Regions from separate parts of the Homo sapiens genome. Here regions 1, 2 and 3 are each linked to region 4. Evidence: promoter capture Hi-C in 16 types of primary human blood cells and fetal thymus (Javierre and others, 2016). All regions are on one chromosome and are shown on one strand. The core of a region is centred on a gene start or on the middle of the fragment in contact, and the rest is flanking DNA. Distances in the headings are between cores, read along the strand shown.

Evidence for each region. Contacts are between HindIII fragments. The CHiCAGO score rates a contact against its expected background, and 5 or more counts as called.
Region 1: a contact is called between a fragment that was not itself captured here and the fragment with the promoter of TMEM171 in region 4, in 1 of 17 cell types (M2 macrophages). The highest score is 5.5, in M2 macrophages.
Region 2: a fragment that was not itself captured here is called in contact with the fragment with the promoter of TMEM171 in region 4 in 1 of 17 cell types (M2 macrophages); the score reaches 6.3 in M2 macrophages.
Region 3: a contact is called between a fragment that was not itself captured here and the fragment with the promoter of TMEM171 in region 4, in 1 of 17 cell types (M1 macrophages). The highest score is 5.3, in M1 macrophages.

The regions. Positions count from the first base shown.
Region 1 is chr5:73,425,632-73,429,308 of GRCh38, forward strand. No RefSeq gene overlaps it. Among named protein-coding and RNA genes, the nearest start is that of FOXD1, 21 kb to the right of the region's middle. The HindIII fragment of the contact is 596 bases long and covers 1,002-1,597 here.
Region 2 is chr5:73,538,267-73,541,949 of GRCh38, forward strand. No RefSeq gene overlaps it. Among named protein-coding and RNA genes, the nearest start is that of ANKRA2, 26 kb to the right of the region's middle. The HindIII fragment of the contact is 995 bases long and covers 806-1,800 here.
Region 3 is chr5:73,512,045-73,515,357 of GRCh38, forward strand. No RefSeq gene overlaps it. Among named protein-coding and RNA genes, the nearest start is that of BTF3, 15 kb to the left of the region's middle. The HindIII fragment of the contact is 1,274 bases long and covers 1,168-2,441 here.
Region 4 is chr5:73,119,003-73,122,200 of GRCh38, forward strand. It overlaps TMEM171 (transmembrane protein 171), which reads left to right and starts at 1,573. Exons shown (of 4, transcript NM_173490.8): 1 at 1,573-1,694. LOC124901001 reads right to left here and starts at 1,489. Exons shown (of 2, transcript XM_047417978.1): 1 at 1-1,489. The coding sequence starts at 1,427. The coding sequence ends at 726. RefSeq lists an enhancer at 412-963. The HindIII fragment of the contact is 5,746 bases long and covers 1-2,639 here.

The sequences.
Region 1 (3,677 bases), core at 50-2,549, 310 kb after region 4:
TTCTCAAGTCTCCCCACTGCTGTTCTCCTGCCTAGCTAGTTATCTATTGTGGTATAATAGATTACCCCCAAACTTAGCAGTTTAAAACAACACTTATTATCTCACAGTTTCTATGGGTCAGGAGCTGGGCACGGTTTGGCTGGATCCCCTAACTGGGTCTCTTGCATGACTACAGTCATCTCAAGGCTTGAATTGGAAGGGTCCACTTCTGAGGTCACTCATCTGCTTGGTGGCAGGAATCAGTTCTGTGCTTGTTGACTGGTGGACTGAGGCCTCATTTCTTCCAGGGCTGTTGGCTGGAGGCTTCGCCTCCCTAGGTTCCTTCCCATGTGGGCCTCTAGGTAGATCATCTCACAACATGTCACTTGGCTGCATCAGTGCTAGCATGCAAGTGGGCGAGAGAGTACTAGCAAGGTGGAAGACAGAGTCTCTCGTGACCTGATCATGTAAGTGACACCCCATCACTTTAGCTGTATTTTCTTTGTTGGAGGAAAGTGACTAGGTCCTGCTCACACTCGAGGGGAGGGGATTACACACGGTTTGAATTCCAAGAGGTGTGCATCACTGGGAGCATGTCAGTAGCTGTCTTCTGTATCACTGGTGACTATTAGGGGTATACTTCCTGTGATGGTTAATTTTAGGTGTCAACTTGACTAGATTAAGGATACCTAGAGAACTGGTAACACATTATATCTGGGTGTGTCTGTTGGGGTGTTTCCAGAGAAGACTGGCAGTCTGTGAACTGAGTGGAGGGAAATCCACCCTCTATGTGGACAGGCACCACCCAATCACCTAGAGGCCCAGAAAGAACCAAAAAAAAGCAGAGGAAAGGTGGTTTCCTCTCTCTCTCTCCTGGAGCTGAGACATCCATCTTCTGCTCTTGGACATCAGAACTCCAGGCTCTCCAGCCTTTGGACTCTAATACTTAACCAGCAGCCCCCTAGGTTCTCAGACCCTTGGTTTCAGACTGAGAATTAAACCATCAGCTCCCCTAGTTCTGAAGCTTTCAGATTTAGACTGAGCCATGGTACTGGCATCCAGGGTCTCCAGCTTTTGGACGGCTTGTTGTGGGATTTCTGAGCCTGCATAACCATGTGAGCCAACTTCCCTAATAAATTACCTCTCATCTACCTACCTTTCTATCTGCAGTCATACCTTGGTATCTGTGGGGGACTCAGGAACCTGTTAGAACTGCAGATTTCCAGGCCTACTCAAGATCTACTGAGTCAGAAACTCTAGGATTGAGGCCCAGTATGCTGTGTTCTAAGAAGCCCACCAGATTATTCTGAGCATCTTAAAAATTTGAGAAGTATTGCCTTAAAAACAAAGGGAGCAGAGCTGCCAGGCCTCCCAATTTCCCTCTTACAAGACCAGGATCCCAGTCATGGGAATACTTGCTACTGCTCATGGTTTTAATGATGATGATTTGCAACGTAAACCAGGAGACAGCTTATGAGGGTACATCATGTGGCAAATCTAGAAGAGAATTTTAGTTTTTCTTTACCTGGGATTTCAGTTTTTCAACCTAGTGAACCTCATGCACCTAACCCCAAAGCCTAGTACTTTACATGTTGTGAGGCCAAAAGGAACTAAACAAAGCTTCAGAAAAGCTAATCAGCAGTAGAAACTTCATTGAGTTGTACAAATGCCAGACTTACTAATATACCTTAATTCTCTAAAAGGGTTCTTCTTATACTCTTTACCACTCCCTGCCCCCCACCCAAAAAATATTGTAATGGCCACAACTGTACTCCTAAGGTATAAGGTGGCTAAGAATAGCTAATTATATGTACTAGGTCCTTCTAGTAGGAATGCAAACTGAAGTGAGTTAGCATCATAACCATGGAATGCTATGCAAAATCTCATGTCCTCCCCATTTGTGTTCCTTCTGGTCTCTTTACCATCATTTCAAACTCTTCATCTTTGGGAGGCCTCCACAGTGTCATAAGAAAGAATACAGGCTCTGGAGATGGAAGATCTGGGTTCACATCTAAGCTCTGATACCTAGTACAGTCATGCATCCATAACAATGTCTCAGTCAATGACAGACCACCACTAACAGACAGATATTGATCCCATAAGATGATTAGGCTTTATTGTTATTGTGTCTTTTCTGTGTTTAGATATGTTTAGGTACACTTACCTTTGTGTTACAAGTGCCTACAGTACTCAGTATAGCCATACTGAACAGGTTTGTAGCCTAAGTAGGCTGCACCATATAGTCTAGATGTGTAGTAGACTATACCATCTACATTTCTGTAAGTACACCCTATTATGTTCACACAACAACAAATTTCTCAAAACATAACCCCATTGTTAAGCAACCCATGACTGTACATCTATACTAGTCTATAACTTTTGGTCAGAGCAATCAGCAGTCATCCAACATAGCAGTGCGAATGCCAGGTATCTGAAAGGGTGAATTACTACAACCCTACTGTTCTAGTTGGACAGTGTAGATCCATTAGGCCAACATTTATGGTTAGAGCAATTTCTTATCTTTACTGTTTTGCCTTTGGGTAAGTAGACAAAGCCAATGGACTCCAAATTATTTTATCCACATCATTCACCTGGTAAATCAGTCAATTTATTAATCAGTCAAAATATTTATTCAGTGCTAATTATGTACATGGAATTATGGAAATGTAAAGAATTACAAGGCATGGCCTTACTTTTAAGTAGCTTGAAATATAGTGGAAACTTAATAGTAGACTGAGTAAAGATTGGCACTTCACAAACGCTCATATAGAATTAATACCACGTAAGTAGTGGTCCACATAAAAAATTGCTAGGGATTCGGGAAATGAGTCCTTCACTGGGGGCAAATAAGAGTAACAGCACCCAGGCTCAAGAATCCAGCCACCTGGATTTGAATTCTAGCTCATCCACTTACAGATATATGACAATGGTAAACTGCTTAACCTCCTCATGCTTCAGTGATTCCTTCTTTTTTTTTTTTTTTTTTGTTTTTTTTCTGTTTGTTTGTTTTTTTGGAGACAGGGTCTCACTCTGTCACCCATGCTGGAGTGCAATGGAGTGAACATAGCTCACTGCAGCCTCAATCTTCTCCTTAGCTCAAGCCATCCTTCTGCCTCAGCCTCCCAAGTAGCTGGGACTACAGGCTTGCACCTACACACCTAGCTAATTTTTTGTAGAGATGGGGTCTTACTGCATTGCACAGCCTGGTCTTAAACTCCTGAGCCCATGGGATCTTCTCACTTTGGCCTCCCAAAGTGCTGGGATTACAGGTGTGCACCACCATGCCTGGCCCAGTGTTTCTCTCTTAAAAACCTTGTAGGATGGCTGTGAGAATTAAATGAACTAATTTATGTCACATACTTAACATAGAACCTAGCCTAAAGTACTCCATACATGTTACCTATGTAGTGGTAGCTTTTATGGGGTAATAGTATTCATGAAGAAGAAAAAAGTCTTAGTAGGGTCTTATGAAGACTACAGAGTAAGGAGGAAAAGGTCTTACAGATATGGACTATAACATCAATAGTACAAATTGCAGGAAAATTGTGGTGTTGGCTGGGATAGTAAGTTTGGCCCAGTTGTAAAAGGTCTTGAACATAAGATGAACTTAAGACTTCTTCATGTAATCAATAGAGAATCACTTTCACTTCTTAAGCAGAAGTGTAGCATGATAAAGATGTTTTGCAAAGTTTTAGTCT
Region 2 (3,683 bases), core at 53-2,552, 420 kb after region 4:
GTAACTATTTAAAGCTCTATACAAACGTATGACGAGAATCACTGAAATAATATTTGGAGAGTGTTTTGCCAAGTGCCTGGTAGTTGAAACAAATTTTTTCAGGTAAAATTTTTTTTGGCTTAAAATATCTGAGGTCAGGTGCAGTGGCTCACACCTGTAATCCCAGCACTTTGGGAGGCCAAGGTAGGTGGACCCCTTCAGTCCCGGAGTTCAGGACCAGCCTGGGCAACATGATGAAACCCTATTTCTACAAAAAATATAATAAAATTAACCTGGCATGGTGGCATGTGCCTGTAGGCCAAACTACTCCAGAGGCTGAGGTGGGAGGATCACCTGAGTCCAGGGAAGTTGAGACTGCCATGACCCATGACCATGCCACTGCACTCCAGTCTGGGCGACAGAGTAAGACCCTGTCTCAGAAATAAAATAAATAAAATAAAATATTTGGAAAAAAATCAAAAAGGTTGGTTGTAAGTCTATGTAGTGTAAGGAATGTAGTCTATTTTTAGGGTTTAAATTGATGACAAATTATTTTCCTAAGGGACTGCCATTAGAGCATTGCCAAGGACTTCAAGTCCTGCTCAGCGAGTGGGCTGAGGAACACAGTTTTCTGTGTAAGCTGCTGAGACTTTAAGCCCTAGGACTCAAGAGCAGGCTTGACTCTCTCCCAGGTAAACTTGCATTTACCTGGCAGGTACGTAGGGACCTCCTGAGCTGGAGCAGATACCTCTCTCAGAACTTCAAAAAGCCAAACCTCAGAGCCCCCTGTAGTTTCCAAAATGGACCCTTCTAGAAGCTGTGGGGAAGCTTGTGACTAGGAGACAATGAACCCAGATCTGCACAAAACAGGTGAAGACAGAGGCATCCTCAAACTGTCGTGGGGCGGGAGGGGTGGTGTCACTTGGGAATTCCTTCCCCCTTTTCCTCTTGATGGACCTAATTTGAAATAATCCTTCCCAGGTCCTGACTAAATTTCTGCCAGAAGCCTTTTTTTTTTTTTTTCGACAGAGTCTCATTCCGTTGCCCAGGCTGCAGCGCAGTGTCACAAATTGGCTCACTGTAACCTCCGCCTCCCAGGTTCAAGAGATTCTTCTGCCCCAGCATCCCAGTAGCTGGGATTGCAGGTGTGCACCATCATGCCCAGCTAATTTCTGCATTTTTAGTAGAGGTGGGGTTTCACCATGTTGGCCAGGCTGGTCTCAAACTCCTGGCCTAAAGTGATCCACCTGCTTTGGCCTCCCAAGGTGCCAGGATTACAGGCATGCACCACTGTGCCCAGCTGCCAGAAGGATTATAAACCAGCATGACCCAGGCACCTGGAGATGCAGAAAATCTGACCCCCCAGTCCTGTGGCCTTGAAAAATGTGCTCAGGTAAGGATCACAGAAAATGGTCTTCGGCAGACAGAAAGATTAGTGCTGGATTTTATTATTTTGTAAATGGTTTAGCCTATTTATAACTTATGAAGCAGAAACTAAAAACAGCTTAAGTATATGTTTATTTTAATTGGAGATGGGCATATGTTTATGTATGCCAATAACTTTTTGAAAGTATGTCATTATAATGAAACTATTATAAAGATGTGCATATGGGTGCATGTTGTATATATGTCAGCAGACACATATTGACATTTATGCAAAGTTGGTTATTGGAAGTGACTGGTAGTAGATATGACTGGGCTGTTCTTGTGCATAATCTTTGGTCCCTGGAAACCCTGAAGGACTGAGCGTGACCCAGGCAGTGGGTTTCTTCCCCATCAGCTTGGTTGCTTGGCGTTTATCTGCAACTGTCTTCCAAGTAAAGCTTCCCAGGAACTAGAGTCTGGGAAAACCTTACTGGGACTTTGGGTGCCTTTAAGCCATTGGCTATGACAGAGAGAAGTTGTTACTGGAAGGCTCTTGTGACATAACTGAGGGGTTCCTGCTTAGGAGGGCTCTTTTATTTATTTTTGAAAAAAGTAGAAATGTCACCTTTTTTATGATTCAGATGATCTGAAGGCACATCCTTTGCAGTGGAAAGAGAAGAGACTCCTGTTACCTACAATAGAAGGAATAGCCTAGACTGCACTGAATGCAGTGACTCATTGTGGGTTACAGGACATACTGGAGTAAATGCGCCTTACTGGAGTGAGACTTCAGTGACAGAGGGTTGAGTTGAGACTCGTCATCTTGTCTCATTCCTAGGAGGTGCTCAGTGAATACTTATGAAAAGGAAGGGAGGGAGTGTTGAGGGAGGGAGAGAGGGAGGGAGGAAAGCGGCAGGGTCTGAGCCTTCAGGAAGCAGGTGTCAGGCTCAGCTGGAATAATTTAGCCCTGCCAAAGATAACCTGGAAGGATCTTTTCAGAAAAAGGACAAAGCATTTCCCAAAGTAACTCATTTCTCAGTATTTGGAGGGTTGCAAACTAGGCACAACTTGTGTCCTTGCCTGGCGGTCAGTCTGGGCATGATGGATGAACCAGTGGAATGGGTGGCCCCAGGGCTCTGCTGATGGAGGCTGTGTTGTATGGGGTGTAGGCTCTTCTCAGGGAAGGTTTGTGGAGGATGTTGAGCCAGTGAGGGATGGTGGGAGTGTGTGGTGAATGTCTCTGATGCTGGTCCCTCAGAGAGGAGAGAAGGAGGAGAGGAAGAGGGAAGAAAGGAAAGAGGGAAGGAGGAGAAGAGGGGAGGGGACATCACAGCAAACATGACCAGAACCAGAGGGACTGTCTTCACAAAGGACTCCTGGTGCTCAGGTGGCAAAATGGGACCCAGAGTCTAGGGTAGGGATATTCTCCTTATTTCTTGTAACTGTCAACATTCTTAGCATCAGAAACCAACTCTGGTTAAACCAAAAAGGAACTGACTGAAAAGCACCTGGTTCACAGAAACATGGGGAAATCTTGAGAAGCAGGCAGGAGAAAGGGTCAGGCAGCTGCAGGTCCACAGCCAAAATCTTGCCAGTGAGGACATGGCCGTCACATTTTGTGCAGCATCTGCTGCTCCCGGAAACCAGTTATTGCTGTAGCCACTCTGACTTCATTTCTCATACTGCTTTGGATCAGCAGCCACCAATTCAAAACTCTGGGGCTAGCGTGTCTGACTGGTTAAGCCCAGATCACATCCTTGTACTCTAGCTTCAAGGGAGGTGGGAAGAGGAAGGCTTGGGTGGAAAGACTGGACTCTTTGGCTTTCTTAAAAGGAGGTGGAGAGTCAAAAAGGCCCACGAATGTCCACCATTTTCCTGCTCAGTACCATGTGATTTCCCAAAGGAAACCCACACTGCTTAGCCAATTTGAGACGTTGTTTTGGGAGCACTGGAGTACTGGTAAATTTAAACACACACACACACACACACACACACACACACACACACACACACACACACAGCCTGCTCTGAAAACATTAACATAAAGCTGAAAGATAAATTGGCTGTTGGAATAAACTTCCTGGAACACGTTGTTTCAAGATGAATCAGCCAGCCATCTATTTACTTACCTTTATGCACAAAAGGAAAAGAGAGAAGGAGGGTGTTCTAAGACGATTGTGCTTAACAAAGAACAGAATGGTAGTTTATACTTCTAAAATTACGAATCTCAGTTTGAATAGAGTTATCCATGACTACCAGTCGGCATTCAAGGTTTTTAGAGATTAGAATCTTATTTTGCAGAAATTATATCAAACTTTGAAAGCCAGATAATCTTGGAA
Region 3 (3,313 bases), core at 555-3,054, 390 kb after region 4:
TGGAGGATTATAGTTTGGGGAGGAAGCAAAAGTAGGCAAGGGAACCTATCCTGATGCAGTTCTAATGCCTATGAAAGGAGGGGGTTAATGAAGGTCTGCGTAGGAAGTCTCAGACTGCAGCTTTTTTTTTGTGAGACGGAGTCTCACTCTGTTGCCCAGGCTGGAGTGCAGTGCAATGGCGTAATCTCTGCTCACTACAACCTCTGCCTCCCAGGGTCTAGCAATTCTCCCGCCTCAGCCTCCCGAGTAGCTGGGATTACAGGTGCCTGCCACCATGCATGGCTAATTTTTGTATTTTTAGTAGAAATGGCGTTTCACCATTTTGGCCAGGCTGGTCTCGAACTCCTGACCTCAGGTGATCCGCCTGCCTCGGCTTCCCAAAGTGATGGGATTACAGGCGTGAGCCACCGTGCCTGGCCTGCAGCCAGTTCTAAGAAAGTTTCAGACAGGCCAAGGTGGAGTCTTTGAGGCAAAGTCACCCATTAGCAGGGTCCCATGTCTTGAGGGATGGGTAGCACTAGCAACCCCACAGTGCTCAGTAATTGCCTGGGGACCACGTGGGGAAGAGTAGCCTTGGCATGAATGTGGTGGTGGGTCCAGACAGGTGGTGGCTGGGGCTGTCAGTTAAAGGAGCTCCCTGATGCAGACGCTCTTGAAGGAGACCTGAGCAGAGCACTATTATTGGCACATAATATGTGCTCAATAAATGCTTTTCTGAATGAGTGTTCAAAAGGTAAAATGAGAATCCAGATCTTACCCTTATGTCCCATTGTGTAGAATCCTACTAACTCCCAAAGCTGACTAGGATCGTGAGTCCAAAACTGTTCTCATCAGGAGACCAACACCCTAAGCCTTAGGTTTTTGTTTGTTTGTTTGTTTTCATGGCAATTTGATGAGTCAGTTTCCCATATTTCAAATCTATCACTTTCTCTATGCCCCATTTCCTTCACTGAAGCCACACAAATACTGCTTGCTTTTATCATCTCAAAAGCCTTCCATGGCTCCACTTCTGGCAGCATCAAGGTTCAGTTCTTTAATCAACATGCATTACTGAAGGCATTTGTCCAATAAGCATGTAGCAGGGCTGGGATTAGAAGGATATTGCTTGTCTTCAAGATGCATTCCAGAACAGATAATTACTGCACTGTGTGTCCAGGAGCTGGGTTAAGCTTTACACAGGATTTGTGGAAGCACAGAGGTGGCACACCTCACTCAGTCTGGGGACACCTGAGATTAGTCTTAAACCCTCTATGAGCCAGCCAAACAAGCAATGGAAGAAGGACATCATGGCAGAGCGGAGAGCATCTGCCAGAGTGTGGCAAGAGGAAGCGTGGTGTCAATGTGTGGATGCGTGTGTGTAATGCAATTCAGTGCTACTGGACCATAATCCTTCCTTATTTTTCACTCACCCCCACCCCTTAACTACTCAGTGTTATTTTTCACCTCTCTCCCTCACATACTTCAAGTTTGGTGCAAGGCAAAGTCCTAATCCTTTGTGTCCTACCAGAGGGTACACAGTTTCCATCTCTGGCAAACCTCTTCCCAAACCTCAATCTAAATCTGAACCCCCTACAAGGTTTGGCTCCAGTTCTCACTTTTATGACCGTGTCCCTTCAGCACCAGTTCTAGCTGATTTCTCTCAAATTACTGGAAATATGTATCATCTCACTCAACTTAATTCCTGGTCGTATGCTGTTCTGTATTGCCCACGACTGTTTCACCAGTCTCCTAATCACAGTGGAAACTCCTGGAAGGTGGAAACTGTATCCTGACTTCAGAGTCAGGCTGACCTGGATCAGAAACCTGGCTTATTAATGTATTTGCGATATGATCTGGGGCAAGTTGCCTCCCCCCACCGACTCTCAGTCATAATGGTGATAGCACCCTGCAGGTTTGTTAAGAATAAAATAAAGATGAGAAGTATAAAATGAACAGAGCAGTGGCTGGCACCTACCACATGCCGAACATTATCAGTAGACTCACCCATTTTGGAAATATATGGAGTATAAATATACTCTTGTTGGTTGAGTGAATTATTGACAGATTGGCCACCCAGAGGTGACACATACTTTCAGGTTTTACAGGTATTCCAAAGGTGATCCCAAGACCAGTCACAGCGGTGATCACACCCAGTACAAGGACTGCCATGTAGGAAATCAGAAGACATTGCCTGGTGGGAAGCCAGCTGTGATCTGTCACCGCAAAACACACAAGCACAAAAGAGAGTCTCTATCACAGGACAGAGGCTCACAGTGGGGATACAGTGTTACCTAACCAGGTGTTGTTCAGGTTTTCTCACTGTGAAAGGCAGAAGCCAAAATTATTAGACCTTGAGTGTGTGCTTTTAGTGATAATGGTGCTTTTCCTGTCTACAGTTTCTAATTTGATCTTCTGGCAACCAGCCTTATGATGAGTGGGTATTGCTCCCCTCGTAAAAATGAAGCTTTACAATGAAGAAAGAAGGACCAGTGAGGTGAAGTGACTTCTCAGGTTTATGCTGATATAAACGGAGCCCAGTCTTCTGGTTCCTATCTGGGTAGGGCTGCTTCTACTATGCTAATGTTTCCTGGGCCCCACCCCAGACTACAGAATCAGACTCTCTAGGGGTTGCACCAGGAATCTGCACATCTTCTGAATACCTTGAGTCATCCTTAAACACACACAAATTTGAGAACACAGCCCTATACCAAAGATGCCAGCCTGGGCAACACAGTGAGACCCCATCTCTACAAAAAGTTAAAAACCCAAAATAAATTAGCTGGGTGTGGTGCTGCACACCTGTAGTCCCAGCCTACTGGGGAGGTTGAAGTGGGAGGATCACTTGAGCCCAGAAGGTTGAGGCTGCAATGTGCCATGATAGAGCCACTGTACTCCAGCTTGGGCAACAGAATGAGACCCAGGCTCAAAAACAAAACCAGGCCGGGCGTGATGACTCACACCTGTAATCCCAGCATTTTGGGAGGCTGAGGCAGGCAGATCACTTTGAGATCAGGAGTTCGAGACCAGCTTGGCCAACATGGTGAAACCCCATCTCTACTAAAAGTACAAAAATTAGCTGGGCATGGTGGCATATGCCTGTAATCCCAGCTACTTGGGACGCTGAGGCAGGAGGACTGCTTGAACCTGGGAGGCAGAGGTTGTAGTGAGCTGAGATCGCGCCACCACACTCTACCTTGGGCGACAGTAAGACCCTGTCTCAAACAAAAGAAAACAAACAACAACAAAAAAAAAAGCAAAGACGAAATGCGGACCATGGTTTTGGGATCCAATTAGACATGCCAAAGGACAAACATTTGCCATCTGCTTAGTGGTT
Region 4 (3,198 bases), core at 323-2,822:
CCTGGACCTCAGTTTCCTCAACTGACAAATGACTGTTTTTCTCAGTCTCCTGTCCCCTGCTGCCTCCAACCTTTTCTGAACTGCTGGAGAGATGTAGCAAAGAACCACAAAGCAAGGGGTCGTGAGTGTTGGCATTGTTCATTTCGACAGTAATCAGGGCTGTTAGTTATGGCGGGGATTTACAGAGGTCGGGCACCCTGGCTATGAAAAAGTCCACCTTTGGCCACCCAGGCAAGTGCCCCACCAAATTCCAATGGCAAGAACTTGTCCGTTCTGCCTCCCTGGTGAACCCTAAAGCCCAGGTAACCCCCTCCCCTCTTTACCTCTCTGACTGGTTCTTTAAGTCTCTTCTCACCTCTGATGATTAGCTAAGCCTGCTTCATACTTTACCTTCAGTGAGCATGACCAGGAATCTCTTGTTGTATCAGGTAGGTAAAGTGCTTGCTTGCACATTGAAAAGTTTCATCCATTGGCCTTAACTCTAGATAGGGTTTCAGGCAAGGCAGACAGGAAGCTGAGAAGAGAAGGCAGGGCTGGGAAGTCCCCGTGGCTCAGGGCACCTCTGCGCTTGGGCAGAGAACCCTTGACTCACCTTCCACCGTGCCCTGACCCCTGGTGTGGAAACTAGCACAGTTGGATCCGTATCACGTGTCACGGGGCTGGTTACAAATAGCACAGGGATTGGCAAACTCATCCCGAAACTCCCGGTTCAAGGGCAGGGAAAGTTACCAGTTTAATTCCGGCAGATCATTAGTGGTGGAGAACCAGGAAGGGGGTTCTATCGCAAAGGAGGGCTGTGCGCAGACACGTGGGTGCGGGAGGGGCAGAGCTGGTCCGGCGCGGGGCTTGCCGCGTCTCGGCCTCAGTCTCGGAGCCAGGACCTCAGGCCTGAATGGCTGGGTGTGGAGGGCCCTTGTCTCACATTCTGTAGAGCGCACGTCGTCCCGTGACCTGGTGGCTCCATATTCGATGGGGAGCTCGCAGCGAGTCGCTTCCCTCTGTAACCCCACTCCAGGTCTCCAGAGCAGTAGGAGGGCCACAGGGCTGCTGGGTGTAGTCGCCCCGGACCTCGCGGTGGCCAAGGCCAAGGCGGCCGGGGCACGGTACCCTGTTCGGCCTGGGCCGCAACCACGAAGGAGGCGGTGGAGGCGGGGGCCGGCGCTTCCTCCGCGCCCCCCACGCCGCCGCTCTCTCGCGCCCCTATAGAACTGGGCCTCAGGCCTCGAGGGGGAGCGGGCCTCGGCGGGCGGGGCGCACAGTTCCGCCAGCCGGCGGGGGCATCTCAACTCGCCGGCCCCGCCAGGTGTGCGGGCCAGGCAGCCGTGGAAGGTGCCCATTTCTCCCAGATTCCTCGCGCGCACGGCCACGAGCGCGGAGGCTGCCAAACCCGCCAGCCCTGGGTTCCGAAGCCGCCCCTGGCTCTCCATTCCCTCGCGGGCGCGCCCCGGGCCCCCAGTGGCGGCCAGCTCCCACCGGTCGCTCCTGCACTGCCCTGCCCTGCCCTCCCCGGGCCGCCGCGCCCGCGCAGCACCGCCTCCTTCTCTAAATACTGCCGGGTCCGCCCTCCGCACCAGGACGCGCGGTGGGTAGGGTGCAGGGCGGCCGGCGCAGCCGAGGCCGCGTGCGGAGGCGGACGCCGCGCCCAGCCAGTGCCCACAGCAGCGCGGTCAGCCAGGCGCCGGACCCAGCTTCAGGTAAGCTGCCCCGGCCCGCGCGCCTGCGCCGGCGGCGGCGGGTCGGGCGCTGAGCTGTGCGGCCAGGCTGGGCGCGGGGAGCCGCGGCAGCGCGGAGGCGCTGGGTATCCGAGCCCAACCTGCGTCCCTGCGAGCCCCTCCGGCTGTTGCTTGCGCTCGGGCTCCCTAAAAGCCGCAAACCGATTTCGCACAGAAGGCATTTGCCTCTCGTTTCGTTCCCCAAACGCACCATAGCTTTGGACGTGGAGAGGTGCTGTGAATTTTGGAAATGTCTTTTGGAAAACCAATAGGAGTGTTGGAGAGGGGAGTTTGGCTTTGGGGAGTTTAAGTGTAGGGTGGTGTTTGGAAAAGGTTTCATTGCGAGTGAATGTGGGTGTCTTTGTATCCGTTTGTGAGTGCATCTGTGGGAGAAGGAGAGAGAGAGAGTATTTCCACACTATTATGGATCAGAGGTGAACACTCAGCCAGGTGCTCCGTCCACTAGTCCACGGACAAGAAACTACAGATTCAGTTTTGGGCTTCTATTTACTGGTGTTTGGGAATTTGCCTTAAGACAGTTGAAGCCTTGTGACTCACTGCAAAGTTGACTATACTGGGAATAAATGAATTCCTGATAGGACTTTGCAGCCGAGAATCACCCTTCTCTTTCTTGTCTCCGAAACCGCAAAAGAGATTGCATGATTCAGGAAAAAAATTAAAACAACAACAATAACAAAAAACCAATATATATAGGTTTCAGGACTCTCCATCGTTTCATTCCACTGAGAGTTTTGGAATGTACTCCCTGTAGGATAAATGAGGACTACTGTATACTCAATATGAAATTCTTATTCACTGCAGGATGTTACTGACTTAATAAAAAATGGGAAGATTAAAAAATTAGTGCAATGCTTTGTCTCAGCTTAACTGCATCTGTATATCAAGTTTTTCCAAGTTTGAAATGAAAGCTTTTTTCCCTCCTATATTTCCTTTTTTTCTCCAACTTCCTTCTGATTCTATCATACTTTTTCCTGGAAAAGTTTTTCCCAGTGTAAGATTGCCTGTTTGCTTTCTTTACCTAAACTGACCTTCCCTCAGTGTGATTTTGGTTTGTCAAGATCATCTTGGGCTTAGGGCCTCAGTCTTGAGTTCCTTCATGGGACCATGGATGTGAGCGGCACAAAATATTTTAAAAGTTTTCTTTCCTTGGGCAGGTGAAAATAGTCTTCACGATTTTGGATTGTCTTTGCAATTGCAGGACCTGACTTACGGGGTCCTGGTAAAATATCCCATTCATTGGAGTAAAATAAGATAACGAGATAATTAGGTCAGCTCTGTGTAAGCTAGACAACTCTTTAACAACCACTTGGCATATTTAATATATTATACCCCTGAAGTACAGGGCTTGGGTGATTTTCTGGAAGGTGCTTTCTCACTTGATTCCACTTATACTATTCTTTCAAAGCCAAGTTCCCCCCTTCCACCCATTTTGTGCTTTATAACTAGCAGTTTTATTGGCTGCTTG